Regions from separate parts of the Homo sapiens genome. Here all the other regions are linked to region 5. Evidence: promoter capture Hi-C in 16 types of primary human blood cells and fetal thymus (Javierre and others, 2016). All regions are on one chromosome and are shown on one strand. The core of a region is centred on a gene start or on the middle of the fragment in contact, and the rest is flanking DNA. Distances in the headings are between cores, read along the strand shown. Region 1 overlaps FNIP1 (folliculin interacting protein 1). Region 2 overlaps RAPGEF6 (Rap guanine nucleotide exchange factor 6). Region 3 overlaps MIR3936HG (MIR3936 host gene). Region 4 overlaps RAPGEF6 (Rap guanine nucleotide exchange factor 6). Region 5 holds the start of IL3 (interleukin 3). Region 6 overlaps FNIP1 (folliculin interacting protein 1).

Region 1 (4,248 bases), core at 623-3,122, 380 kb after region 5:
TAGTGACTTTGCTGTTAAAAATGGCTTCCAAATGTAGTGCTGAAATGCTGTCTAATATTCAGTGTAAGAAGATTGTGATGTACCTTACAGAAAAAATACATGTGTTAGATAAGCTTCCTTCAGACATTATTTATGGTGCTGTCAGCCATGAGTTTAATATTAATGAATCAACAGCATCAAATAAGATATCCTTAAACAGAGAGGCACATCAAGGTTATGTATTGAGGGTTTGATGAAAATGTGACCAGAGGCTCATAGGAACCTGTTTATTTTCCTTAGGGGCAGTGGTTCAGTGTTGCTAATTCAGTGCTTGAGTGGGCTTTATAGAAAATAACTACCTCAAATAATGAGAATAGACTCTGCAGTCAGACCTTTATATCTGTGGGTTCCACATCTGCAAATCAGCCAACCTCGGATCAAAATATTTGAAAAAGAAAAACCAATAAAAATTAACTGCAATTAAAAAAATACACATTAAAAAACCAATGCGGTATAACAATTATTAACATAGTATTTACACTGCATTTGGTATTATAAGTACTCTAGAGATGGTTTTTTTTTTTTTTTTTTTTGAGACGGAGTCTTGCTCTGTCACCCAGGCTGGAGTGCAGTGGCGCAGTTTCGGCTCACTGCAAGCTCTGCCTCCCGGGTTCACACCATTCTCCTGCCTCAGCCTTCCGAGTAGCTGGGACTACAGGTGCCCACCACCACGCCTGGCTAATTTTTTTTTTTGTATTTTTAGTAGCGACAGGGTTTCTCCGTGTTAGCCAGGATGGTCTCAATCTCCTGACCTCGTGATCTGCCTGCCTCGGCCTCCCAAAGTGAGGTGGTTTTAAGTATACAGGAGGATGTGCATGGGTTACATGCAAATAGTATGCCATTTCATAAGGGATTTGAGCATCCACAGATTTTGGTAACCATGGGAATTCTGGAACCAATCCCCTGAAGACACCAAGAGATAAATGTACTTCTTAAATTAAGGGATTATTTAAAATTAACAATGACATAATCTTTAAATGATTATTTGAGATCAAGTGATTAGTAAATTTTGGGCAGTTGAGAAGAGGAAGGAAATTATTTACATGTGTACAGAAACCATGAAAGCTAGAGAAGCAGGAAGCATGTTTAGTTAACATTGCTGCCTAACAAAGACGAAGTCTTTAGATTTTTATATAGACCCTAGGCATATCAAAGAAAACTAAATCATGCCTACAGTTTCCTCCCAACCAAAAGAGTCTTTCATTGTCCGGGCACTGGGAAAAATAAGGGGACAGACTGGGAAAAATAAGGGGACAGATTACTGAAAGTATTTGCTTTTCTTACCATTGAATGATAGGGCACAATTATTAGTGGAGAAGAAAGAAATGATTTCTAGAATAAACCATTACTTCTAGATTTTTTTTTTTTTGAGACGGAGTCTTGCTCTACCGCCCAGGCTGAAATGAAGTGGTGCAATCTCAGCTCACTGTGACCTCTGCCTCCCAGGTTCAAGTGATTCTTGTGCCTCAGCCTCCCAAGTAGCTGGAATTACAGGCACTCACCACCACACCCAGCTAATTTTTGTATTTTTAGTAGACGGGATTTTGCCATGTTGGCCAGGCTGGTCTTGAACTCTCAACCTCAGGTGATCCGCCCACCTAGACCTCCCAAAGTGCTGGGATTATAGATGTGAGCCACCGCACCTGGCCATTACTTCTAGATTGTTAATGACAACAACATAGAGTTGTATATAGTGAGAAGCACTGTTGCGTAATTAATTTCTTTGCCTTCTTTATACTTGATAACACTCTGAGGCCATAGCATATATAATACTTTTAAACAAATATAATACTAAAATACTAAAGCAAAGGCTCTCATTGGACCACTAATACCAGTGTTTGTGATCTGGCTCTGTGCAATGACACATGGACTTATAGTAGACGGTAATATGCTGAAGAAACTCATGAAAAAGTCTTAAATGATCAGCATATTTATTTATTTATTTATACATTGTTTCTTTTAATCAAAAAGTATATGCACATGATTAAGAAACAAAAATTTCTGAAAGGTCCAATAATTAAAAATAAATGAATCCTATCCTACTCACCCCATTCTTCCCAGACACATTCTCTTTTTAACTATTATTTCTTGTTATTTACTTCCATATTATTAAAAAGTATACGAAATGTTGCTATTTCCTCATTTATCAGTTTTAGATCATATTTATTTTCTGCCATGATATATGGGTTTATACCTGTTTCTTGGTCCTTTATGGTCTCAGTATTGTTATAGCACCATCATGTTCTTCGGCTCTGGTAATTTTTCTGCTTTCTTTTACAATTTATTCTGTTTTCTCTCTGGAATCCGTTTTTTTTTTTTTTTTAGAAATTGGCACTCCTGGATTGTTCTGTGTTCCTTTTTTTTCATATTTTCCTTCTCTTTTTGTGAATGTTTTGTTTTTCTATCCCTTCTATGCTTTTTTCATTTCAGCAAATCTTTGATGCTTTCTTATTTTTGGATAATCCTTTTCTTTGAAAATTAGATTCTCTACCATACTCTTTAATTTTAATGTACATTAGAGTTTTGTTTAAAAGTTTTCTTCCATTGTTTGCATTATTTCTGTTTTCCTCTGGAGTCATTTTATATGGGTGAGTATGTGTGTGTTTCTGTTCTTGTCTTTTTCTCTGCTTGGAGGCTTTCTCTAAATATCAGTGTTTTTGGTTGCGCTCTGTAGTTGAGAATGAGGTAACAAACTGTAGGTTAGGAATTCTGTGCATAATCAGGCTTTTGACTGGAGACCTTCACTTCAGGGCAGTGTTTTTCAACCTTTTTTTATTATCATTACCTGAAGAAGCATATTTAGATATTTTTCCCCTAATCTCTGCTCCTTCAATACCACCGCCCCCCACAATCCCATGAAGATTTAACACTACAAGATATACTCTATATCTGATTATATACTCTGAAAGATACAAATGCCAGGAAGAGTTTGGAAAAGGTCATTCCTCGGGGCCATTCAACTGCTATATCTGCTCTCTCCTATCTGTAGTCATTTTCTGGGGAAGTGGAGAGGAGGTAGGGAGCTGCCAACCATTTATGGACTTTGAATTAGTCTCCCAATTTTCAGTACTGTATCGTAACTCCTGTCATGACTTTCCCAAAAATTTGTGAGTCTTGAGCCTCATCTTGCTTTAGTGGGGCAAATTAGCTCTCCTTTGTCCATGTCTCCCTCTGTGATACTATGACCTTATAACTTTCTCTACTCTGCTACTTCAATCACAATTCCACCATATGTTTGTATTCCAGAATTTCATGAAATCTCTAATTTTAATTTTCAGTAATAGTTCCTTGGCAATTTTTTTAAAATTAAGTAATTTATTTTTTAAATAATAGAGACAGGGTCTCACTGTGTTCCCCAGGCTGGTTTTGAACTCTGGGCTTAAGCAGTCCTCCTGCCCCAGTCTCCCAAAGAGCTGGGATTACAGGTGTGAGCCACCACACCCAGCTGGTTCTTCTCTAATTCTATTTGTTGCACTAGTTTATCTGTTTTCAAATCTTTAGGTGGTGTTCATTTGGGGCCTCAGAAACTGAAGAGAGGATAAACATTTGTCTTCAATTTTCCATCGTATCTGGACACCTGTAATAAGCTTTAAAAACAAACATTTTCATATATGCCTAGTTTGTATTCTAGTCATATTTGCTCTATAAAATAACTTTTTGTTTATTTTAAAATTCTTAGCAATGATTATATGTTCTACAGAGAGCTCATTAAAGTGACCTGTTCTTATTGTTTCTATCCATTGTAATACATCATGTTTATATTGTTTCAAATTCAACAAAATTTGTAGAGGCAAGATAATTCTTCTCTTTTTTGGCTCCTAGGTGTTACCAGACAGTGATACTGAGGTTGGTATTAGAATTTATGGAAATCTCAGAGAACTTTCTAGAGCAGTATTGCACAATAAAATCTCAGCCGTCAGCCACATGTGGCTATTTAACTTAATTAAGATAAATTCCCTTCCTTAGTCATACTGGTCACATGTCATGTGTTCAGTAACCACATACAGCTAGTGGCTACCATTTCAGACAGTGCAGGTTTCCATCATTGCCAGGTTCTACTAGACAGCATTGTTTTAAAAAGTAGAAAGTAGGACACCATTCTGTAGTTCTCCAGGATTGACTAGTTTCTTAAGCCTCAGGCTTTTGCAGGAGTTGCTTAGTCTAGTAAATGTATAGGGCTTTGTTAAATAGATAATGATGTAAAAAGAA
Region 2 (4,453 bases), core at 862-3,361, 460 kb after region 5:
AAATATATACTAAATGTGTAATGACTACTCAGATGAAAATAGAGATACCAGTTTTCCAGAAGGCTCTAATCAACTTTGAAAGGTAATGACAATTCTGACTTGTATCACTGTAGGTTAGTTTTGCCACTTATTGAACTTGGTATAGAGAGAATCTTTTGGTGATGCTTTTTTACTTAATAAATATCCAAATTTTTCTGTTTTTGTATGTGTTCTTTTTCACTGCTGTACAATATATAATTGTGTGCAAATAATGATTTGTTTGTCCCTTCCACTGTTAATAGTTGGGTTATTTCTAGTTTTCTTTTTGTTTGTTTGTTTGTTTGTTTTTGAGATGGAGTTTCGCACTTGTCGCCCAGGCTGGAGTGCAATGGCATAATCTTGGCTCACTGCAACTTCCGCCTCCCAGGTTCAAGTGATTCTGGTGCCTCAACCTCCCAAGTAGCTGGGTTTACGGGCATTAGCCGCCATGCCTGGCTACTTTTTGTATCTTTAGTAGAGATGAGGTTTTACCATGTTGGTCAGGCTGGTCTCAGACTTCTGACCTCAGGTGATCCACCTGCCTCGGCCTCCCAAAGCGCTGGAATTACAGGTGTGAGCCACCGTGCCTGGCCAATTTCTAATTTTTAGTATTATAAATAATACAGTTTCTATTAACATTCTGTTATTTTTGTGCCCTTATTGCTTACTCCTGTTGAGGATATTCCTAGGAATAAAATTATGGTCATGTGCCACATAACGTTGTTTCAGTCAGTGATGGACTATTGTGTCAAGTTGCCTGCAGTATTCAGTAGAGTAACATGCCGTGCAAGTATGTAAACTAGGAGCAATAGGCTATACCATATAACCTAGATGTATAGTAGGCTATACCATCTTCTAGGTTTGTGTTAAGTACACTCTATGATGTTAGCATGATGAAATCATCTAATGATGCATTTTTCAGAAAGTATCACCATCATTAAGCAAGGCATGACTGTAGTGGAAATGTGCATGTTCAAATTCAGGAGATTGTGACAGTTTTTTAAAATTAGTTGTACCAATTTTTTTTTTTTTTTTTTGAGACGGAGTCTCGCTCTGTCGCCCAGGCTGGAGTACACTGGCACAATCTCAGCTCACTGCAAGCTCCGCCTCCTGGGTTCGTGCCATTCTCCTGCCTCAGCCTCCTGAGTAGCTGGGACTACAGGTGCCCACCACCATGCCCAGCTAATTTTTTTTGTATTTTTAGTAGAGACGGGGTTTCACTGTGTTAGCCAGGATGGTCTCGATCTCCTGACCTCATGATCTGCCTGCCTCAGCCTCCCAAGGTGCTATGATTACAGGCGTGAGCCACTGCGCCCGGCCAATTGTGCCAATTTTAATAACCATTAGCTGTGTATAGTTAAGTTCCAGTTGCTCTACATGTTTGACAACCCTTAATGTTTGTGTTTTATTGTTTGCTTATTTTGAATTTTTGCTACTCTGCTGCTGATTACATTATGTTAGTTCATTGTGATTTTATTTTACATTTTCCTGTTACTAATGATGATGAATGACATTTATGTTTCTATCAGGTATTTGGATAGCTTCTTTTATTAATTGGGTTGTCTTTATCATTTCTGTTGATTTGTAAAAGTTATTTTTGAATTCTGAGTGGAAGTCCTTTGTTGGGTATGTCTAGTCTATTATCTATTTCCACTGTGCCACTTTTCCTTTTTTTTTTTTTTTTTTGAGACGGAGTCTCGCTCTTGTCACTGAGGCTGGAGTGCAATGGTGTGACCTTGGCTCACTGCAACCTCTGCCTCTCGGGTTCAAGGGATTCTCCTGCTTCAGCCTCCCGAGTAGCTGGGATTACAGGCGCCCGCCACCATGCCCAGCTTATTTTTTGTATTTTTAGTAGAGATGGGGTTTCACCATGTTGGTCAGGCTGGTCTTGAACTCGTGACCTCAGGTGATCCACCCGCCTCGGCCTCCCAAAGTGCTGGGATTACAGGCGTGAGCCACCGCTCCCAGCCTTCTTTTTTTTTTTTTTTGAAATGGAGTTTTCTTGCGTTGCCCAGGCCAGTCTTGAACTCCTAGGCTCAAGAGATCCTCCTGCTTCAGACTCCCGAGGATTACAGGCATACGCCACTACACCCAGCTCTTTTTGCTCTATTATTGGCATCTTTTGAGAAAGAGTAATTCCTTTCTCAACTTGTCCCCTTGTGATTAGGGCCTTTTGTGTCCTGTTTTAAAAAAAATCAAATCTTTCCTTTCTTCATGATTGCGAAGATTTTCTTTGTTTCTCCTCCAAAAGTTTGGTGTTTTCTGTCTCAAATATAGATCTACAATTCATCTTGGAATTGAGTTTTACTTTTGATGTGAGGTAGAATTCAAGATTCATTTTTCTTAATTTTAAAAATATTTATTAGTCATTTTAAATTTAATGAGAAACCCATCACGTTTCTTTTTTTCCTTCCTTCCTTCCTTCCTTCGCTCCCTCCTCCTCTCCTCTTCTCTCCTCTTCTCTCCCCTCCCTTCCCCTCCCCTCTCCTCTCCTCTCTTTTCCCTCCCTCCCTCCCTCCCTTCCTTCCTTCCTTCCTTCCTTCTCGTTAGTTCTTTTCGTCTCACCATGTCACCCAGGTTGGAGTGCAGTGGCGCGATCTCGGCTTACTACAACCTCCGCCTCCTGGGTTCATACGATTCTCCTGCCTCAGCCTCCGAAGTAGCTGAGACTACAGGCGCGTGCCACCACGTCTGGCTAATTTTTGTATTTTTAGTAGAGATGGGGTTTCACCACATTGGCCAGGCTGGTCTTGAACTCGTGACCTCAGGTGATCTGCCTGCCTCGGCCTCCCAAAGTGCTGGGATTACAGGCATGAGCCACTGCGCCCAGCCTCATTACATGTTAACACAATTAACATTTATGAGAAAGAACTATTTTCATAAAAGATTTAATTATAGTTTAGCAAATCTAATATCTTTCTGACATTAATCGGATTGTCATATCTGTTGCATTCAGTCTGTTGTGATATATTTTTTGAATGAAAGAAATCTTCATACAGAGAAGTTGTTAAAACAAAAAAAAATGCGGGAAAGTTCTTTTCAGATAAGTTGGGTATTCTTCTTTAAAACAGTACCAAAACTTGACAGGTTGCTTACAGATTAGTTTCAGTATGGGGTCTGAGACTTTATCCATGAACTTTTTACTGTGTTGCATTAGAAACAATTGGTCTATCTTGCACATTGAATAAATCATTTCTCTATGTTTGATTTTTGTAATGCCATGCGTTGGCCATTTGGAAAATATTCATGGTCCTGGTGTATGTAGTTTTTCTCATTTTGGCACTTTAAAAAAAAATTTATCAAAAATGGCATTGCTAATATCACCACCAGCCTCTTCTGAAAAGTTTAGGGAAGTGTCAAGCTCACAGTAATGGATACAAATTTTCTAAAATGTAAATTGTTGATTGAAGGCATGGATTTTATTATTGGCAAGATTCATTAGGTATCCCTATGGACATCCAGTTGATCCAGCACCATTTATTGAAAAACTATCTTTTTCTCTCTTGCGCTGCAGTGTCCACTTTGTGTTAAATTAAGTGACCCCGTGTGTGTAGGTGTGTGTGTGTGTATCTCTGTGTGGTCTCTTTATTTTGCTCAATTGTTTATTGCTCATTTGTTTATTGTTTATTTTGCTCATTTGTTTATTTTGCTCATGCCTGTGTTCATGCAAGTACTGCACTGTCAAGCTGTGTAGTTTGAGTTTTTTTGTTTGTTCGTTTTGTTGTTGTTGTTGTTTTTTGTTTTTGAGACAGAGTCTCACTCTGTCACCCAGGCTGGAGTGCAGTGGCAAAATCTCGGCTCACTGCAACCTCTGCATCCTGGGTTCAAGCGATTCTCATGCCTCAGCCTCCCGAGTAGCTGGGACCACAGGCGTGGACCACCATGCCCGGCTACTTTTTGTATTTTTAGTAGAGACAGGATTTAGTAAAGACGGGGTTTCACCACGTTGGCCAGGCTGGTCTCAAACTCCTGGCATCAAGTAATCCGCCCGTCTCTGCCTCCCAAAATGCTGAAATTACAGGCGTGAGCCCCCACGCTCGGCCTAAGCTGTGTGTTTTGATATCTGATAGCATGAGTTTGTATTCAGTAGAGTAACTCAGGCTTGTACTCAGGCTTGTTCTTCAAGATTGTCTTGGCTATCACTGTTGCTTTGCCTTTCTGTGTAAATTCTAGAATCAGCTTGTCAATTTCCACACACAGTTATACACAAGAAAGCCTTTGGGAGGCTGTGGGCTTTGGATTAGGATAGCATTAAATCCATAAATCAATTCAGAGAGAAATGACGTTGTTACAATGAATCTGTCAATCTGCAAACATGTATATTCTTCCATTTATTTAGTCTTCTTTAATTCTTCACAGCAGTGTTTTAGGAGGGTGTTTTTCCAACATAAACAGTTTGAGCAGTTTTTTCTGTAACACTTTTAAGATGTTTTAT
Region 3 (4,167 bases), core at 1-2,500, 310 kb before region 5:
AGTTGCTCTTGACACCGCCTAATCTTATAAGAGGGACGGGGATTATTTTGAACCTGGGACTGTTAACTACCCTAGTAGAGAGGCTGGGAGCTATGACTTTTCATTCTAGTCCAGATGCCCTTTCCACATTTTCGTCTGTAACAAGCCATTTTGTTCATGCAGATGTAAAAATTTAACTTCACGATTAACGATCCTAGCCTAGGGTTAAATATTCCCCACAGATTAGTTATTTCCGTGCAGAGTTTATTCAGAAGCTAACTGGAAAAAAAAAAAAAGCAGCGAGGTGATTCTAAAGCAGCAATGTTCCATAGGATAAGGAGCTACATTTGTTATGTTAACTTTTCTAGTAGCCATATTAATAAAATTGCCAGATTTAGCAAATAAAAATATAGGACTCCTAGTTAAATTTGAATTTCAGATATAGAATGAATAATTTTTAAATATTATGTCCCAAGCAGGAATATATAAAATAAAAATGTAACTGGTTGTCCTGTATTTTATTGGGCAATGCTGCATATTTAAAAAGTAAAAATAAAAGATGAAATTAACTTTAATGGTATATTTAATCAAGTATATCCAGAACATGATCATTTCATCATATAATCAATATAGAAATTATTGATATTTTACATTGTTATATGTAAATCATTGATCTTTTTTTCCCCTCCTCATACTAAATCTTAAGAATTCAGTGTGTTTCACAGGTTCTCAGGATTTGAAAAAAAAAAAAAAAGGAATCCAGTGTGTATTTTACAGCACATTTCAATTTGGACTAGCCACACTTTTTATTTTTTAATATTTATTTATTCATTTATTTATTGGAGACACGGTCCCACTGTGTCACCCAGGCTAGAGTGCAGTGGCACAATCATAGCTCACCGCAGCCCTGAACTCCTAAGCTTAAGTGGGCCTCCTGCCTCAGCCTGCTGAGTAGCTAGGACTACAGGCACATGCCACCGTGCCCAGCTAATTTTTTTATTTTTTTTATTTTACAGAGACAAGGCATCCCTGTGTTGCCCAGGCTGGTCTCAGACTCCTGGGTTTAAGCAATCCTCCCACCTCAGCCTCCCAAAATGCTGAATTACAGACGTGAGCCACTATGCCTGGCCAGACTCATTTTTTAAGTGCTCAGTAGCCACATGTAGCTATTGGTTATCTTATTGGACAGCACCATTCCTAAGGCCTTTAAGAATTTGGGCTGCTAAACTTAACAATGCAAGATATTCCTTTTTAAAATAGTAGTGGCTTAGTGATAGAAACAGAACTAAGTGTATATTTTTACAATATAATGTGTTGAGTAAAGAATATTTAATAGTCACTATATTATGAGTTGAAAATAAAGCTACAGAAAGGGAACCTAACCTGGCCAGCAGATTTTTAACAAGGAAATCTAAACATTTGCATAAAGCATAATAGACTTAAAAAAATTATGATAAAGATGTTATCACAGGACTTGTTTGTTTCTTTATACTTACTATTCACTATTCTTACTTCCTGAAGATGGATGGTTATACCTTCAGCAATGTACTTAAATCCTTCTAACATCTTATGTGAAGTTATAGTTCTTATCTAGAACTAACTGAAAAAGAAAGCAAAGCTTCTTGAAAATAAACTCCTTTTTTGTGTGCTAAAATATTATTTTAATGCTTCAAAAGAAATGAAAGCTTTTATGAGAAGAATGTTGACCTCTGTCCAGACCAAACAAGATGAAGAAGTCTTATTTTAACATTTGAGAAATATCAGTTGGGCATCAGATAACATTCCTGAAAGGGACTGAAAACAATGCAGTATACTACAAAAGAAGCTGCATATCCTTAGGAAGAAAAGAAACTATTTGTCATAGATGGCTTGTCCACATGCGCAAAGCAGAGAGCAACCTAAGATGGTGCCGTCCAGTTCCAGGTGCACTGTGATTACTATCTGAATGCCATTACTATTTAAATTGCATTTTTTTTTTGAGACAGGGTCTCCTTCTGTCACCCAGGCTGGAGTGCAGTGAGGTGGTCTTGGCTCACTGCAGCCTCAACCTCCTGGGCTCAAGCAATCCTCCCACCTGAGCCTTCCAAGTGCCTGGGACTACAGCCACGCGCCGCTACACCCAGCTATTTTTTTTGTATTTTTGGTAGAGACAGGGTTTTGCCATTTTGGCCAAGCTGGTCTCAAATTCCTGACCTCAAGTGATCCCCCCGTCTTGGCCTCCCAAAGTACTGGGATTATAGGTAGGAGCCACCATACCCAGCCTTAAATTTCATCTTTTAAAAGAGAAAGAGAGCTTAGAATCTTAATCAGTTACCTGAGGCCCTTTATCCTGCAATATTCTGAATTGGGATGTTCCTATTTTACATATTAAAAAATGTAAAACTGATTTATATGGTAGATAACCCTACAGTTCAGGGCTAGAACTTTAGATTAAATGCATTCATACCCTGGCAGATGTGGTAGCTTGCCTCCAAGATGGCACCCAATGAATGATCCCTGTACCAGGATTGGTCTATGTGACCAAAAGCATACAGCATTAGTGATGATACTTATATCACTTGGGTAATTACATTATAAAAGATGTCCATCATGGGTGTTCTTTTCCCTTTCTCTTGCTCAGAGACAAGCAAGCTGTCATGTTATAAGCAGCCCTTTGAGGGGTCCATGTGATGTCAAGGAATGAAGTCTCTAGCCAACATTTAATGAGGAACTGAGGCCCACCAACAACCTTGAGTGAGCTTGGAAGTAGCTCCTTCAGCATCAGTTGGGTGTCGAGATGACTACTGACAGCTTGACTGCAACTTCATGAGAGTCTTCTGGACCAGAACCACTCAGTTAAGTGGCTCCCAGATTCCTGATCCTCAGAAACTCTGAGAAATAATGAATGTTGGTTGTTTTAAAATGGTAAATTTTGAGGTATTATGTTATGTGGCAATAGATAGCTAATATATAAATTATTTGAATCAAACAATACGTTAAATTAAAGCTCAGAAGAATAAACATCTGTAATTCCTTAATTTGTTTTCCCTTCTATTCTACAGAATAGAATTTTACAGATGAACCTTGTAGTTACTTGTGCAATAAGAGACAGTATGTTGTATTGATTAAGTGCAGAGCCTCTGGATGTATGATAGAAGAAAGACCAATATTCAATTGCTTTCTTCTTCAATTCCAAGCTTGTGAGCTTGAGCAAATTTTAAAAGTGTTTTAAGCCTCAGTTTCCTGGGATGGTAGTGCTTAGCTCGAGCTCCTAGCATATATTAACTACAAACTAAATATTAGCTATAATTATTAGTTTTACTTTGATTATTGACTCTAAATAAATACCTTAAGAACTTTGTGTTCTCCACAGATTTGGATATGTCTGGACGTTATGTAGGCTGGAGTAGTCAGCAATTACTTGCCTGAGGAAGGGAAGGCCTCCTCCTTTAAGAAAAGAATAGGCTGGGTGCGGTGGCTCATACTTGTAATCCCAGCATTTTGGGAGGCTGAGGAGGGTGGATCACCTGAGGTCAGGAGTTTGAGACCAGCCTAAGGAACATGGTGAAACCCTGTCTCTACTAAAAATACAAAAATTAGCCAATTGTGGCACGCGCCTGTAGTCCCGGCTACTCAGGAGGCTGAGGTGAGAGGATTGCCTGAGCCTGGGAGGTGGAGGTTGCAGTGAGCCGAGATCGCGCCACTGCACTCCAGCCTGGGCAACAGAGTAAGACTCCGTCTCAAAAAAAAAAAAAAGAAAGAAAGAAAAGAGTAGAAGGCCCAAGCTTAGTCCAATATTATAGCTTCAGCATCAGAGTAGAGAATGATTCAGAGCATCTGTCCAGTGTCTGCTGTAGATCCCTCAAATCCGTGTTTGGACGCTTCTGGTAAGGGGTGTATGGCAGATGCACCCGACAGATGCACTTGGCAGCAATAACTTATGCATACCTGAAGAATGACCCTATGGTCTAAGAAGAATGTGTGTTCAGAGCTCCAAGCTAAGGAATCTGGGAGTGGCCAACCCAGATATTTCATTTCTTATCTATGACGAACTTCTGAACTGCTCCCACCCCCAGCCCATCCTGTAGAATGCAGGCCCTACGAGGCGATCAAAGCCCTTTGTTTTAGGTTAAATGAAGGTTGCCTGGTGGAGGTTGCTAGGGGAAAGGTGTTAAGTAAAAATGTTATATAAACTGCATGGTGTTTTTT
Region 4 (4,521 bases), core at 1,241-3,740, 430 kb after region 5:
ATCAATTGACTTTCTTTCATGAAAGATTTCTCTTTAGCATGTGATGCTGTTTGATAGCATTTTACCTACAGTAACTTCTTTCAAAATTGGTGTCAGTCCTCCCAAATTCTGCTGCTGCTTTATCAACTAAGCTTAAGCTTATGTGGTATTCTAAATTCTTTGTTGTCATTTGAACAATATGTACATCATCTTCACCAGGAGCAGGTTGTCTCAAGAAACCACTTTTTTTACTAATGCATAAGAGGCAGCTTCTCATCTACTCAAGTTTTATCATGAGATTGCAGCAATTTAGTCACACCTTCAGGCTCCATCTTCATTTCTTTTTTTTTTCTTTCCTTTTTTTTTTTTTTCTTTTTCTTTGAGACAAGATCTCATTCTGTTGCCCAGGTTGGAGTGCAGTGGCGTAATCACAGCCCACTGCAGCCTCTACTTCCCAGGCTCAAGTGACCCCACCTCAGCCTCCTGAGTAGCTGGTACTACAGGTGCATGCCATCATGCGTGGCTGATTTTTTTTTTTTTTTTGTAGAGACGAGGCCTTGCTATGTTGCCCAGGTTGATCTTGAACTCCTGGGCCCAAGCAATCCTCCCACCTTAGCCTCCCAAAGTGCTGGGAGCCAGCCCAGGCTCTATTTCTAATTCTAGTTCTCTTGCTATTTCTACCACACATGCAGTTGCTTCCTTCACTGAAGTGTTGTACCCTTCAAAGTCATTCATAAAGGTTGGATTCAACCTCTTTCAAACTCCTGTTAGTGTTGATATTTTGACCTCCTCCCATGCTTCACAATTTTTTTTTTCTTTTAAGTGATAGTCTCAATACATTGCCTGGACTGGTCTTGAACTCCTAGGCTCAAGTGATCCTCCCACCTCAGCCTCCCAAAGTGTTGGGATTACAGGCGTGAGTCACCATGCCTGGCCCACAGATGGTTTTAATGGCATCTGGAATGATGAATCATTTCAAGACAGTTTTCAATTTTCTTTTCACAGATCTGTTAGGGAATCACTGTCTATGTCAGCTGTAGCTTTATGAAATGTGTTTCTTAAATAACAAGACTTGAAGGTTGAAACTTTTCCTTGATCCATGGGCCACAGAATGGATGTTGTATTAGCAGGCCTGAAAAAAATCACTAATCTCCTTGTGTACCTCCATCTGAGCTCTTGAGTGACAAGATGCATTGTCAGTGAGTAGTAGTATTTTGAAATGAATCTTTTTTTCTGAGCAGTGGGTCTCATCAGTGGACTTAAAATATTCATTAACCCATACTGTAAACAAACGTGCTGTCATTTAGGCTTTGTTGTTTATTTACTGAGCACAGGCAGAATAGATTTAACATAATTCTTAAGGGCCTTAGGGTTTTCAGAATGGTAAATGATCATTGGCTTCAACTTAAAGTCACCAGCTGCATTATCCTCTAACAGGAGTCAGCCTGTCCTTTGAAGCTTTGAAGCCAGGCATTGATTTCTCCTCTCTAGTTATGGAAGTCTTAGGTGGCATCTTCTTCTGATATAAGGCTGTTTTGTCTACATTAAAAATCTGATTTTTAGTGTAGCCACCTTCATTAATTATCTTAGCTAGATCTTCAGGATAACTTACTTTTTATGTTAGTGGAGGTGGCTTTTTTTCGTAAACTTCATGAACCAACTTCCACCAGCTTCAAACTTTTCTTCTGCAGCCATCTCATCTCTCAACCTTTTTAGAATTGAAAAGTTAGGGCCTTGCTGTGGATTAGGTTTTGGCTTAAGGGACTGTTGTGGCTGGTTTGATGGTTTATCTAGACCACTCAAACTTTCTCCATATCAGCAATAAGACTTTTTCACTTTTTTTTTTTAAATCATTTTTTTGTTCACTAAAGTAGCACTTTTAATTTTCTCCATGTGCCTTTTCTTTGCATTCACAACATGGCTAACTGTGTGGTGCAAGAGGCCTGGCTTTGGGCCGTTGTTAGCCTTCCTAAGTTTAATCATTTCTAGCTTTTGATTTAAAGTGAGAGATAGGTGACTCTTTTCACTTGAACACTTAGGGGCCATTGTAGGGTTATTAATTGGCCTAATTTCCGTATTGTTATGTCTCAGGGAATAGGGAGGCCCCAAGAGAGGGAGATAGAGAAGGTGGAACAGCCAGTGGAACAGTTGGAACACATACATCAGTTACGTTTGCCATCTTACATGGGCACAGTTTGTGGTGCCCCAAAACAATTACAGTAGTAACATGAAAGATTGCTGATCACAGGCCACCATAGCAAATATAATGAAAAAGTTTGAAATGTTGTGAGAATTACCAAAATGTGACACGGAGACATGAAGTGAGCATGTGCTGTTGAAAAAAATGGTGCTGTTGGACTTGCTTGATGCAGGGTTGTCATGAACCTTCAATTTGTATTTAAAAAAAAAGAAAACAACCCCACAATACCAGCCAAGCACAATAAAACAGAGTATGCCTGTACTTCTTTGCGTCATTATGCCAGAATTCCTTAAAGAAGCCACAGTCATAATTAGACCTTGAACTTGGCTGTTTCTCAGCTCAATCCACATTTAATACCATTCTTTATAACGTTCCTTTTTTTACTTCAGAATGAACTCCTTATATTTCCCTTAATGTTTATTTCCCTCTCAGTGCTTAATGCCATGATTTGCACATATTAAATGATGAATAAATATTTTACAAGCCAAAATTTGGAAATACATTTTGTAAAGTCATCATATGTTAAAAAGGTAGCACTTCGTATTCATTGGAACTGCTAACTTTTTGTTTCTTGGACAGTCTTACTCAGCAGCTTGGTTTCAGTTAGTTGTTATAGGCTAATGCCTCCTAGGATTATGTTTTCCAACTTATCCCCTAAATTTTATGTGCTTCAGCTTCATATATCAACCATCTTGTCCTCCAGGTTCTTCAACCACTTGTCCTAAATTGAGCCATCATTATTCCTCTTCCTTCATAATCTGTTGGCAGCTGGCCGAGTTGCTGTCTCTAGGAATTTGTATTATTTCTCTTCATTCCTCATAGATGCAACTTGCCACTAAACTTTGTCCCCTGAATCTTTTTATTTGCCCTTTTCTTACAAGTTTTACTACTCTAATTCAGTCTGTTTTATTGTTTCTACCCCCAAATTATTGCTTGAGTCATTGAGTCTTGCTGCTAGAGTGATCTTCCTCTCAGATCTGATTATGTTCTACTCTTGCTCAGAATTTTATTTCCTATATTTCCTAGGTATAGATTAACAATATGTTGTTCAAATCATTTTTGTGAATTAAAAGAGAAGCTGTTAATATTTATTTCAGAGTAACAGGTTAAAGAGGGACTGTCCCGCTTAAACTGAGATATGGTTACCTCACCCAGATGATAACATTAATTTGTACATTCATTTAAGAAATAATATATCTGATATATTAAAAACCAAGGTTGTAGAGAGGAGTTAGACATGGTCCCTATTCATCAATGACTTGGGAGACATAAGAAAACATAAATGTAATAAATGTTTTAGTTATTAGTGACAAAGGTATGAGTAGGGCTTTGGGATTGCAAGATGGGGAAGGGAACAAGCTTCATGGGGGAGCATTGAATTCCCAGTGTTAAATGTCATGAATTGATTTCTGGATGATCAAGAGAGGTCATTCCAAGCAGAGAGGCAGGAGCAAAAGTACTGATGATGGCAAGCCATGTATACTTGTAGAATAAGAAGCCAATCTGTAAGTCTAGAGCAGGCATTCCCGTTGGAAGTGATATCGCTCCCAAAGATGCAAAAATTGCCTTTTATGGGAGTGGGAAAAAAAATCACAGCTATTGGTATGGTTTGTGGCCCTCTAAAACTCAGCCCTAAACTGACAGTGTCTTATTCTTTAGTATTTAATTAGAGATGGGGCAGTGCTTACGAAAAATTGTCTGAAAGGTTCTTTGGGAGGGGATGAAAATGAAAAAAAGGTTGCAGAACACTGGGGCTAATGTCTAGGATGTTTGGGGATGATGGTACATGATGTGAGATGTTTAATGATGAAGCTGGACGTACTAGCAGGGTTTGGATAATTTCAGAAATTTGGACTCCATCTTATAAATAAAGGAGAAAGAACCGTTGCAGGGTTTAAAGCCTGGAAATAAGATCAGTTTTATAAAGACTACTATGTGAGCATTTTGGAGATGTAATTGAGTGGGGAGGAGCAGACTAGAGACAGGGAGGCTTATAGGTATACAGGTAGACTGGACATGTATTTTATCCAAACTGGGATATTTTCCATGTGAAAGGTAAGACTACTAGTGATTATACTAAGATAATATGGAAACCAAGAAGTATGGTTTTTTTTTTTTTTTTGAGACGGAGTCTCTGTCACCCAGGCTGGAGCGCAGTGGCGCTATCTCGGCTGACTGCAAGCTCCACCTCCCGGGTTCACACAATTCTCTTGTCTCAGCCTCCCGAGTAGCTGGGACTACTGCCGCTCGCCACCATGCCTGGCTAATTTTTTTGTATTTTTAGTAGAGACGGGGTTTCACCATGTTAGCCAGGATGGTCTCGATCTCCCGACCTCGTGATC
Region 5 (4,493 bases), core at 416-2,915:
TTATTTTCCTAACGGGGCAGAGAATACACTTAAGGGGGAAAGGTTACAGAGTATCCCTCCCACAAGCAGGTGGAAGTCACCCCCACAGTTTCCCAAGCCCACTGTTGGGGACATCCTCGGGTTCCCTCCTAGTCCCGTTCTTGCCTCAGGTGGGTCCCTGCCCAAGGGCACAGGCCTAGAAGTGAGTGGCAGGCAGGACCTGGTTTCCTCAAGCCCCCAGTCTCTGGCTCCATTTGAGCTACATAAAGGGCCTAGGTGGGCTGGGCGCAGTGGCTCAAGCCTGTAATCCCAGCACTTTGGGAGGCCGAGGCAGGCAGATAACCTGAGGTCGAGTTCAAGACCAGCCTGACCAATATGGTGAAACCCCGTCTCTACTAAAAATACAAAAATGGGAGTGGTGGTGCATGCCTGTAATCCTAGCTACTTGGGAGGCTGAGACAGGAGAATTGCTTGAACTCAGGAGGCAGAGGTAGCAGTGAGCTGAGATCGTGCCACTGCACTCCAGCCTGGGCAACAGAGTGAGACTCTTGTCTCAAAAAAAAAAAAAAAAATGGGTGGGGAGGGGGTACCTAGGTGGATCTTTCTGCACTTGGGGGAAAAAATATCTCCAAAAAGAAGCTCTACAAAAGACAGGGGGTTTTCCAAGGGAAGTATTTGTAGCTCAGAGGCTGATAACAGTGTTCATGCCCTGACTGAATTAAAGTCTCCTAGAAATCAAGAAGAAAATCACAGAGACCCCAGCATGGAAATGGGTGCAGCATGTGAGCTGTGAGTGCCCCAAACACAGATGGCCCAGGAACTCAGCAAAGGCTTCCACTTCTTGTTTGACCCAAGAAATGTCATGCAAAGGTGAGACAGAACAACTGCAACCAACTGGAACCATGAAAAATAACTGTAAATGATAATGCCACAGCCAATGAGGGTGGAAAACACAAACTCAATTTTTTAAGGGAAAAAGAAGCTGGCACATCTGAGGGGGAAATTTCTGTCTGTCAGTCCAGAGTCTGCCCTACCAAACACTGACCTTAAGGCCCTTGGTATTCCTCACCTAGAACTGCCTTTTCATTTTCTAATTTAAAAGTCATTTTCATTATTATAGCCATGGCTGTGGCCATGTATTGAACTCTTAAGTGCCAGATGCTGGGCCAGAACATGCACATTGTGCCATTTGATTGTCATAACAATCCCACTGAGATAGGTGCTATTAACCCTATTTTACAGATGAAGAAAGCAAGGCTAGGTAAGATGGAATGACATGGCTGAAGTCACCCAGGCAGGAAGTGGATCGGGATCCACGGGCTGAGCTCTTACCATCAGAATGTCTTGGTCTTCCCCATTGAGGTTGTTGAAGTCCTGTGGGGGTGAAGGGAGAGAAAGGCCCATGAGGCCTTTTGGCCTTAGGCAGCCACCACCCCTCACTGCTGCAGGCCAGTCTTATCCAAGCTACTCACCAGCAAAGGCAAAGGTGGCTGCTTTAAGTGTGTTATAATTTCATCGATCATGTTAGAGCAGTTAACCCAGCTTGTCTTCAAGGGCGTTGTCTGGGTCATGGGAGCTTGGAGTCCGGGGCGGACCAGGAGTTGGAGCAGGAGCAGGACGGGCAGGCGGCTCATGTTTGGATCGGCAGGAGGCACTCTGTCTTGTTCTGGTCCTTCGTGGGGCTCTGAAGAGTTGGCAACAGCCTCCCGCCTTATATGTGCAGCAGCAAGGTGCCCACAACCCCGGGCAAGGCGGGGGGAGGTGGTGGTGTGGGGCAGGCGTCGGAAGGATCTTTATCTGACATGGAACCTCCATAGAAAACCACAGACGTAATTATTCATCCATGACTTTCTAGTACTCAAGATCAGTGAAACAAGAAAAAAGATTACTTAAACGGTATCACTTCATCTTGTCAAGGAGGATGAGAGATGGGAAGCATGGCAGCAGGTGAGAGGACCCCTGTGGCAGGAAGGGGAAGCCTGACTCAGCTCACTGAGGCCTCCTGCCCAGTGGGATCTCATCTGCCATCACCTGGACTACCCTGGCCCTCTGCTGCCCGCCCTGCTTGGTCCTGGTGGGTGGCCAGGAGGCCACTGGAACAGATGAGAGTTTGTCTGGTAGCCGGTCACGCTGCTAAACATCCACGTTCAGCCTCAGGCTCTGAGAAGCACATCTCTTGGTGCCGCTTCCCAATACAGAATTACTGGTGTTCCAGTCCCCAGTGGTTTGTCCCATGGGCTTCGGGCAGCTTCTCCTTGACACTTTGTTTCTGGTGGATGGCCGAGGGCGCTCAGGCCCCAGGTGGCCATTCTCTTACTGGTCTGCTAGCAGTGGCATGGCTGTTCCCTGCGTGTGGGACTCAGCCTCTGCAGGAGGCCCGGCTGCAGCCCCTGGCAGTCCCTCTGGTAGCACCGAGAGCTGAGCTCAGGTACCTGAGGACACTGTCACTGGGAGCTGGGGGAGGGGCTGGCCTGGGAGGTTTAGGAGGCAGAATTGGCATGGTCTGAGGGGTGAGGTCAAGGGAGGAGAAAGGAGAGCAACTCCCTGGTTTCAGACTGGGCCTCAGGCTGCTGGGGCAGGGATTGGCAGGAGACAGTTGTATTGAGAGGTCTTGATCCCCGTCTGTGCTGAGCATGGATTTGCCAGGTGCAGGCCCAGTAGGCAAGGTTTGCAGAGAGGGGATGTGAGTGGGGACAGACCATGGGGAAATCCACAAGGGACCTGAGAAACTGCAGCCAGATAGGAAGCAGGAAACCCAGAAGGGCGGGGGTGGTTATCCCAGAGGGCAGCCCCTGAGAGAAGAGGGGTCCTCCTGATACGGGCCTGTCTTGGGGCCTGCCTGACCCACCCCATGGGGTAGGGGCTTTTGGTAAAGGGATGAGTGTGACAGGGGCATGTGGAAGACTTCTTCAAGATGACTGGCCCCGGGTGGGAGGGAGAGGAGAGCAGTAAGGAAAGGCCAGGGTCTGGGTCATGGTGCGGTGTGTTGTGATCAGTGTGGGGGATGCGGGATAGGAGGTTATGCTGAGGCAGCGGAATTTGGGTGCTTTGGGCTTCTGAGCATAAGCAGATCAGGTGAAGACAAGGACCAGGATGTGGCTGTGGGGAGGCAGGTGAAGAGGCTGTGACTCAAGGCCATGCTGTGAGGATGATTTCTGTAGCTGATATGCCCTCCTGGCTCAGCCCCAGGCTGGGCCCTGGACCAGGAAGAGCCCTAGGTTCTGGACCCGGAGTGGAGTCTGACAGGCACAACTCAACACACAGAGGGGAGCCTTAGCACCAGCTTGCGTACTCCGTAGGCACAATTCATTCAACAGACGTCTACAAAGCACTTGCTGTGAATAAAACAGACATGGTAACCTCCACTAGCAGCTCAGTCTTGTGAGGAGACAGATTTCCAGTCTTGCTACCCTTCCTGTGGTCCCAGACCTGCAGGTCAGCCCTGCCCGGGAGCTTGTTAGCGGTGTCAACCCTCAGGCCCCAGCCCAGACTTTCTGAATCAAAAATCGCATTTTGATAAGATCCTCAGTGATTCAGTGCATTTGAGGGGCTCTGATCTAACTACCTCAGCAATCTTAGCTCCGGTAGGGTCCCCTATTGCCCCACGGACCCAGAGTTTGTTCCTTGCATACTCAACTGTACCTTGGTGTTACTGTCTATGTAAACGTTTTGGGGACTTGTGCACAAATAATGTGATTCCTTACAGAGAAAAGCTGTATTTTTTTTAGTGTAAGTGGGCTTTTCTAGGGAATTTTAAAGTTCAATGAATTTAAAGCTGTGGAGACAAAACATTCCTGTATTTTTTTTTGTTTCTTTAAAAGTCAAGACTTTGTGTTGTAACCACACATGCACACAAAATCCTGAATAGTAGTATTGTAAATCTTGACATTTGTAGTGTTTTTCTCATTTTAAAAATGAATATATACCAGCCTGAGCAATTTGGCGAAACCTCATCTCTACAAAAAATACAAAAAATTAGCCAGGCGTGGTGGTGCACACCTGTGGTCCCAGCTACTTAGGAGGCTGATGTGGGAGGACCACCTGAGCCTGGGAGGTCAAGGCTGCAGTGAGTTGTGATTGTGCCACTGCACTCCAGCCTGGGCGTTGGAGTGAGACCATCTCTCCAAAAAAATTATATATATACACATAGTTTATTAAAGGCAAAAGAGGTTGAGGCTTCATGCTAGGAGCATTGGAGGACTTGCGGGGTTTTCAACCAGGGGAGGCGAGGTGAAGCTCAGGTGCACCTGCTGTGGGGGAAAGGATGAGAAAGTTCAAGGCAGCAGGGTGGCCAGTGAGGAGATATTGGGAGTCCTCTGGAAGACAGGTGGTGGGAAGCTGGACTAGGTAGGTTCTTACGGGGTGGAGAGGACTGGGTGAAGGGAAGCGCTCTCACAGCTGACTTCTATTGAGTGGCACTTGTGAAGTGTGGAGAACTAAGTTCTTTTCATGGCTGAACTTGTTAATCCTCATGATGAACTGTGAGGCAGGTGCTGTTATTAGCCCCATTTTCC
Region 6 (4,618 bases), core at 1,904-4,403, 350 kb after region 5:
GGAGGGTGGTAGAAGAGAATTGATTGTGTTTAAGTGTTGACAGAATAAGGAAGTTATAAGGAGCATGAAATTAAAGACTAGAAGTAGTAATTGATAGAAGGAGGTTTTTGAAGAAGAATGGGGGATTGGGGTCCTAGCTGACTTAGAGTTAACTTTGGAAGGGAGGAAGGAACTTAGGATTTTTTAATAAGTCACTAGCACATTGTAAGGCTTGAATAACATGACAGCTTAGGCAGGAAGGAGGCAAGGATGGATGAGAGAGTAAGTTTTGAAGCAGGGTGATAGGAAAAAAAAGGGTTCCAATCTGGTTAATTCTACTGTGTGTATGTGCATATATGCATGTGCATACTCTAGGAAACAAAAGTTTTATGCTGAGAAGAAGAGGTAGGGAAGGAGTTTGAAGAAGTAGATAATTTTTAAAGTAACGAGGGAAAGAAAGCTAGGACGAATTAAAAAGCTGACCATTGAGACATGGAAGGATTGCTGTACATGTGCTGTAATTATAGAAGTTCTTGCTACAGAAAAATAATATCTGTTAGCAATTTGAAAACTACAGTTGGCTGGATACAGTGGCTCATGCCTGTAATTTCAACACTTTAGGAGGCCAAAGCAGGAGGATCACTTGACCCCAGGAATTTGAGATCAACTTGGCAATGTATCAAGACTTTGTCTCTACTAAAAAGTTCTCAAAATTAGCTGGGCCTGGTGGCATGCACCTGTAGTCCTGGCTCATGGGGAGGGTTGAGGAGGGAAGATCACTGGAGCTCAGGAGTTCGAGCTTGCAGTGAGCTATGATTATGCCATTGCATTCCAGCCTACATGACAGAGCAAAACTCTGTTTCAAAAAAGGAAAGAAGAAACATGCAATTGTCACTTTTTAAAACAGAAAGCCCCGTATTCCATCCTAGTTAAATGTCCTTCATGGCTATTTAGACTATTTTCATGAAGCATAACTAACAGGTAACCCAGCTGCTTGCTTTCAGGCTATAATGTCCTTCTTGGGTCTTCAGACTGCAGTTACCTTTTCTTGATGAAGCATGTGGCAGCCACTTCTCTTGAACAGCTGGGAGTCTGGTCCCTGATGAGCTTCATTTGTGTTCCTCCTTCCACAGTGGCTGACTCCTGGTTTAGTAACCTTGGTTTCTTCCATTACTTTGTAACTTACAACTGGGTTAGAAAAACCAATTTTTAATTTGTCAGTAAGATCTCTTCTGGTTTTGCACCCTGTTGTATGCTGTGTGCCAAGTGCTTAGGTGGTTTTCTCCTCGCTGCAGTTGTAGGCACATACTATAATCTTCAAACAACTTTAAAAAAATGAATTTATTTGGCAAATATCAGATTAGATAGATAACATTATCGTACTTTTTCAAATCTTTAAAAATACTGCTTTACATTAGAAAGGATTGAACATTTAAAATAATTTTTACTTTATATAGCAGAAGCTTGTTTTTATTACATATAGATTTATTAGTAAAAATACATGAAGTTGTTGTTTCATATAAATCATGGCTAAAGAAACACCATCCTGTTTCAAAAATGGGAAAGACAGCTTGAATTCTTATTTAGTTTAAAAGTTTCCATCCATATTTGTTGGTCTGCTCTTGTGCTGCCTTAGCTCACCTTTTTTCCCTGACGCATTGTGGCTTCTCTAACAGTCCTCTTTCATGTGTATTTTACGTTTTTGCCATGTAGGTCTTTCACAGTTCTGCAGCCCCAGGCGGGCATTCTCTGAGCAGGGTCCGCTCCGCCTGATCAGGAGCGCCTCTTTCTTTGCAGGTTTGCGATGTGCTGTGTGGGTAGACTAGTTGGTGTGCCCCAACGGCTAGAATCTGTAGTTAAGCTGTGGAAACAAGAGAGTAGATGAATGCAGTTGGTGAGGTTGTGGTTAAGAAAACATTGCATTAGGAAGTATAAAAACTTAATTCCTTTTCTACTGAACATGTTCTTAAAGTTTCCAGACACCGGATTATCAGTAGAATTGACATTTTTATGAAATTTCAGTTTGTCATTTCTCTTGTGGCATAATGATTTTAACTTCAGAATCTGAAACCAAAACTTAATATGAACTTTATTTCTTATGATACCACTTGGAATTTTTAATGTGACACTGTCTTGTTTCCATGGCTGAGTAGCTTTTGTACCATAGTTCACCAATTGCAGAAAATTATCCTATCTTGTTATTATTGTAAAATTTCTGATCTACACTATTCCATAAGAGCAGTTTTTCTTGGAGCTAAGATTTAGATGAACAAGCACTACTATAATGCTCTGTAAAAGGCATATATGACTATATTTGCTTACATAATCAAGTTGATGATTGTAGAGTATGTTCATGTGTATATATCCAGGATTCTAATCATATTCCTTGTTTTCACACATTTTAGCGGATTACCTAACATTGTAACCTTTTAGTGGAAATTACTGGAATGTGAACACATTTACTCTTCATTGTTCTCAGATTGGTATCAATTTAGCCCTTCTTGTTTTGATTAATATTTTCTTTCCCTGTAAATATTAGATATAAAAAATATATATTTGTAGAAAACTTGGAAAACACTTTTAAAAGGCAAAAATATATATTAGCCATTTTATCAGCCAGAAATACCTGCTTTTTTGTTTTTTAAAGAAAATGGGGATCATACTATTCAAATAAATATCTCAATTTATTATAGAGAATTTTGAAACATACATTGTTATAGGCAGAAACAGTACAGTGAACTATGATATACCCACCACTTGGTCCCAGCAAGCACTCATACTGTTCAGTAGCTTGCTTTTTTTCATTTAATAGTATATTATAAATATGTCACTGAATATGCTTCCAAAATATGACTTTTAGTCACTCCTTGCTTCTTTAGATATTATGTTTTAGATTCTTATACTGTGTATCAAATCTTCACAGAGCTCTCAAAGCTTGTTCAACTGAGTAATAGCTCTTGGTGTTGGGTTGGTGCCATGCTATTGAAAAAAATAAGGGAATGCAATGAGATGAGCATGATTTCGTTTGCTATTTAAAAGGAGCTGTTCATCCACCTGAATAGCAATATATTTTATAACTGACAGTTTCATCTTTATTTATAGTTCACAGCAACCCAATGGACATGCCTGGAAGAGAGCTCAATGAGGACAGAGACAGTGGCATAGCACGGTCTGGTAATGTCACGTTCTTGTATTCAGTTTTTTATGAGATTACTGTTGGCATTGATTTTCTTTTTTATCCCTCCCTTTATTATCAAATTTGTTCATATTGATATTAGCCTTACAAGAGAACTGTGAAAAGACCAGAGCAAAGTCTTATAAATTTAATATTTTTCATGTTTACTTTTAAGTGTGCTAAGTAGGATAAAGCCAGGATGAAGTAAAGCCAGAGTAAAGTACACTGGTTGAAGCTTAGTGAATATAAGAAGAAAAGCATTGGTCAGAAAAACTGCTTAGAAACTGTAGTAAAAAAAAAACACGTTTGCTTATATTTGCTTGCTGCTAACTAAAGTTTAAATTGTCATATTGTCTCTTGCCCAGAAAAGCATAGGCATTTTGAATCAATGTTATACTTTTTTTTTTTTTCCAAATATGGACCTGTCCAAAATTTGTAGGTCTAGCAAACATTTATTGAAACATGGTGGACATTAAAAAAATTAAAGCCCAGAGTCTGCCCTTACGGAACACAGATGTATGGAGTCTACTGGGAGAAAAATTAGGAAAATCATCTGTCATAGGTCATTGTGTGATGCATTTAGTGATAGGCCTGCGCAAAAAGCTTCAGCGAAAGAGCACCACACTTAGCCTGGGCAAGGGGCAGGGATGCCAACAATGCTTTACAGAAGGATGATGATTGAGTTGTATTTTGAGAAATAAATAGCAGTTATCCAGGCAAAAGCTCAGAAAAGCATTTTAGCTAAAAGGAAAAGTGTTTGTTGGGGCCCAGAGAGCAGCATAAGTAAAAGGAGGAGTAATTTTAGGCTTGAATTACTGTTAGATATGAGAAACTTAATTCAGTGTGATAGCATGTGTTGTTACATTATATGGCTCTGCTATCGAAATTGTTTTGTAATTCAGTTTTGAGTATAAATGAAAAATCTAAACTTGCTGTATATTGCAATCCCTAGGTATGTATTAGAATAACAAAGAGAAGTTTTATAAAAAATTCAAGTGCCTGAACTCTACTTTCAAAGACTCTCGTGTAACCTAGAGAAGGTATCTCTAGGCATCTGTATTTGTGAAACAAAACAAAATGCAAAACCTAACACTTGATTCTAATGGATAGCTAGGGTTGCCGACCACTACTCTAATAAGAGTAGCTTGTGTTTTTCAAGTAATCTCATCTTTCTTTTCTAATTGAGTTTCTTATTTTTGTTTTAAAGAATCTAGAGTTTATTTCTTTTAATAAACTTTGCTTCGATGTAATCTAGATATTTAGTCTTCCCTGGCAGGAATTTAATTCTCATTATTTTATTTAAGATTTAAGTATAATTTATTTATACTTACATTCTTTGTAAGTTGAAGCATCTGGCTAGACTGATCTGTTAGGCTGCTTCAAGTTATTGGATTCATATATGCCATTTAAGTTAATGTGTGTTTTCTTTTTTTTCTAATAGGGTTATTTTTAATATTAGAATGC

What was found. The method cuts DNA at HindIII sites, captures the fragments that hold promoters and counts their contacts. A CHiCAGO score of 5 or more calls a contact.
Region 1: a fragment that was not itself captured here is called in contact with the fragment with the promoter of IL3 in region 5 in 1 of 17 cell types (naive CD8 T cells); the score reaches 5.5 in naive CD8 T cells.
Region 2: a fragment that was not itself captured here is called in contact with the fragment with the promoter of IL3 in region 5 in 6 of 17 cell types (naive CD8 T cells, neutrophils, total CD8 T cells and 3 more); the score reaches 7.8 in naive CD8 T cells.
Region 3: a contact is called between a fragment that was not itself captured here and the fragment with the promoter of IL3 in region 5, in 1 of 17 cell types (megakaryocytes). The highest score is 5.8, in megakaryocytes.
Region 4: a contact is called between a fragment that was not itself captured here and the fragment with the promoter of IL3 in region 5, in 2 of 17 cell types (total CD8 T cells and naive CD8 T cells). The highest score is 7.1, in total CD8 T cells.
Region 6: a fragment that was not itself captured here is called in contact with the fragment with the promoter of IL3 in region 5 in 1 of 17 cell types (total CD4 T cells); the score reaches 5.0 in total CD4 T cells.

Annotation. Positions count from the first base shown.
Region 1 is chr5:131,679,877-131,684,124 of GRCh38, reverse strand. All of the region lies in intron 11 of FNIP1 (folliculin interacting protein 1), which reads left to right. Among named protein-coding and RNA genes, the nearest start is that of RAPGEF6, 47 kb to the right of the region's middle. The HindIII fragment of the contact is 3,513 bases long and covers 116-3,628 here.
Region 2 is chr5:131,598,637-131,603,089 of GRCh38, reverse strand. The region is part of intron 3 of RAPGEF6 (Rap guanine nucleotide exchange factor 6); the gene reads left to right. Among named protein-coding and RNA genes, the nearest start is that of RAPGEF6, 34 kb to the left of the region's middle. The HindIII fragment of the contact is 9,095 bases long and covers 1-4,453 here.
Region 3 is chr5:132,365,214-132,369,380 of GRCh38, reverse strand. It overlaps MIR3936HG (MIR3936 host gene), which reads left to right. Exons shown (of 8, transcript NR_110997.1): 2 at 2,600-2,813. It overlaps MIR3936 (microRNA 3936), which reads left to right and starts at 3,782; the gene lies at 3,782-3,891. The HindIII fragment of the contact is 698 bases long and covers 902-1,599 here.
Region 4 is chr5:131,625,592-131,630,112 of GRCh38, reverse strand. The region is part of intron 1 of RAPGEF6 (Rap guanine nucleotide exchange factor 6); the gene reads left to right. Among named protein-coding and RNA genes, the nearest start is that of RAPGEF6, 7.4 kb to the left of the region's middle. The HindIII fragment of the contact is 2,101 bases long and covers 1,440-3,540 here.
Region 5 is chr5:132,057,827-132,062,319 of GRCh38, reverse strand. It overlaps IL3 (interleukin 3), which reads right to left and starts at 1,665. Exons shown (of 5, transcript NM_000588.4): 1 at 1,452-1,665; 2 at 1,312-1,353; 3 at 1-8. The coding sequence starts at 1,613. It overlaps LOC105379174 (a long non-coding RNA gene), which reads left to right. Exons shown (of 5, transcript XR_001742531.2): 2 at 712-849. The HindIII fragment of the contact is 14,005 bases long and covers 1-4,493 here.
Region 6 is chr5:131,707,736-131,712,353 of GRCh38, reverse strand. It overlaps FNIP1 (folliculin interacting protein 1), which reads left to right. Exons shown (of 18, transcript NM_133372.3): 7 at 1,693-1,776; 8 at 3,082-3,153. Among named protein-coding and RNA genes, the nearest start is that of RAPGEF6, 75 kb to the right of the region's middle. The HindIII fragment of the contact is 476 bases long and covers 2,916-3,391 here.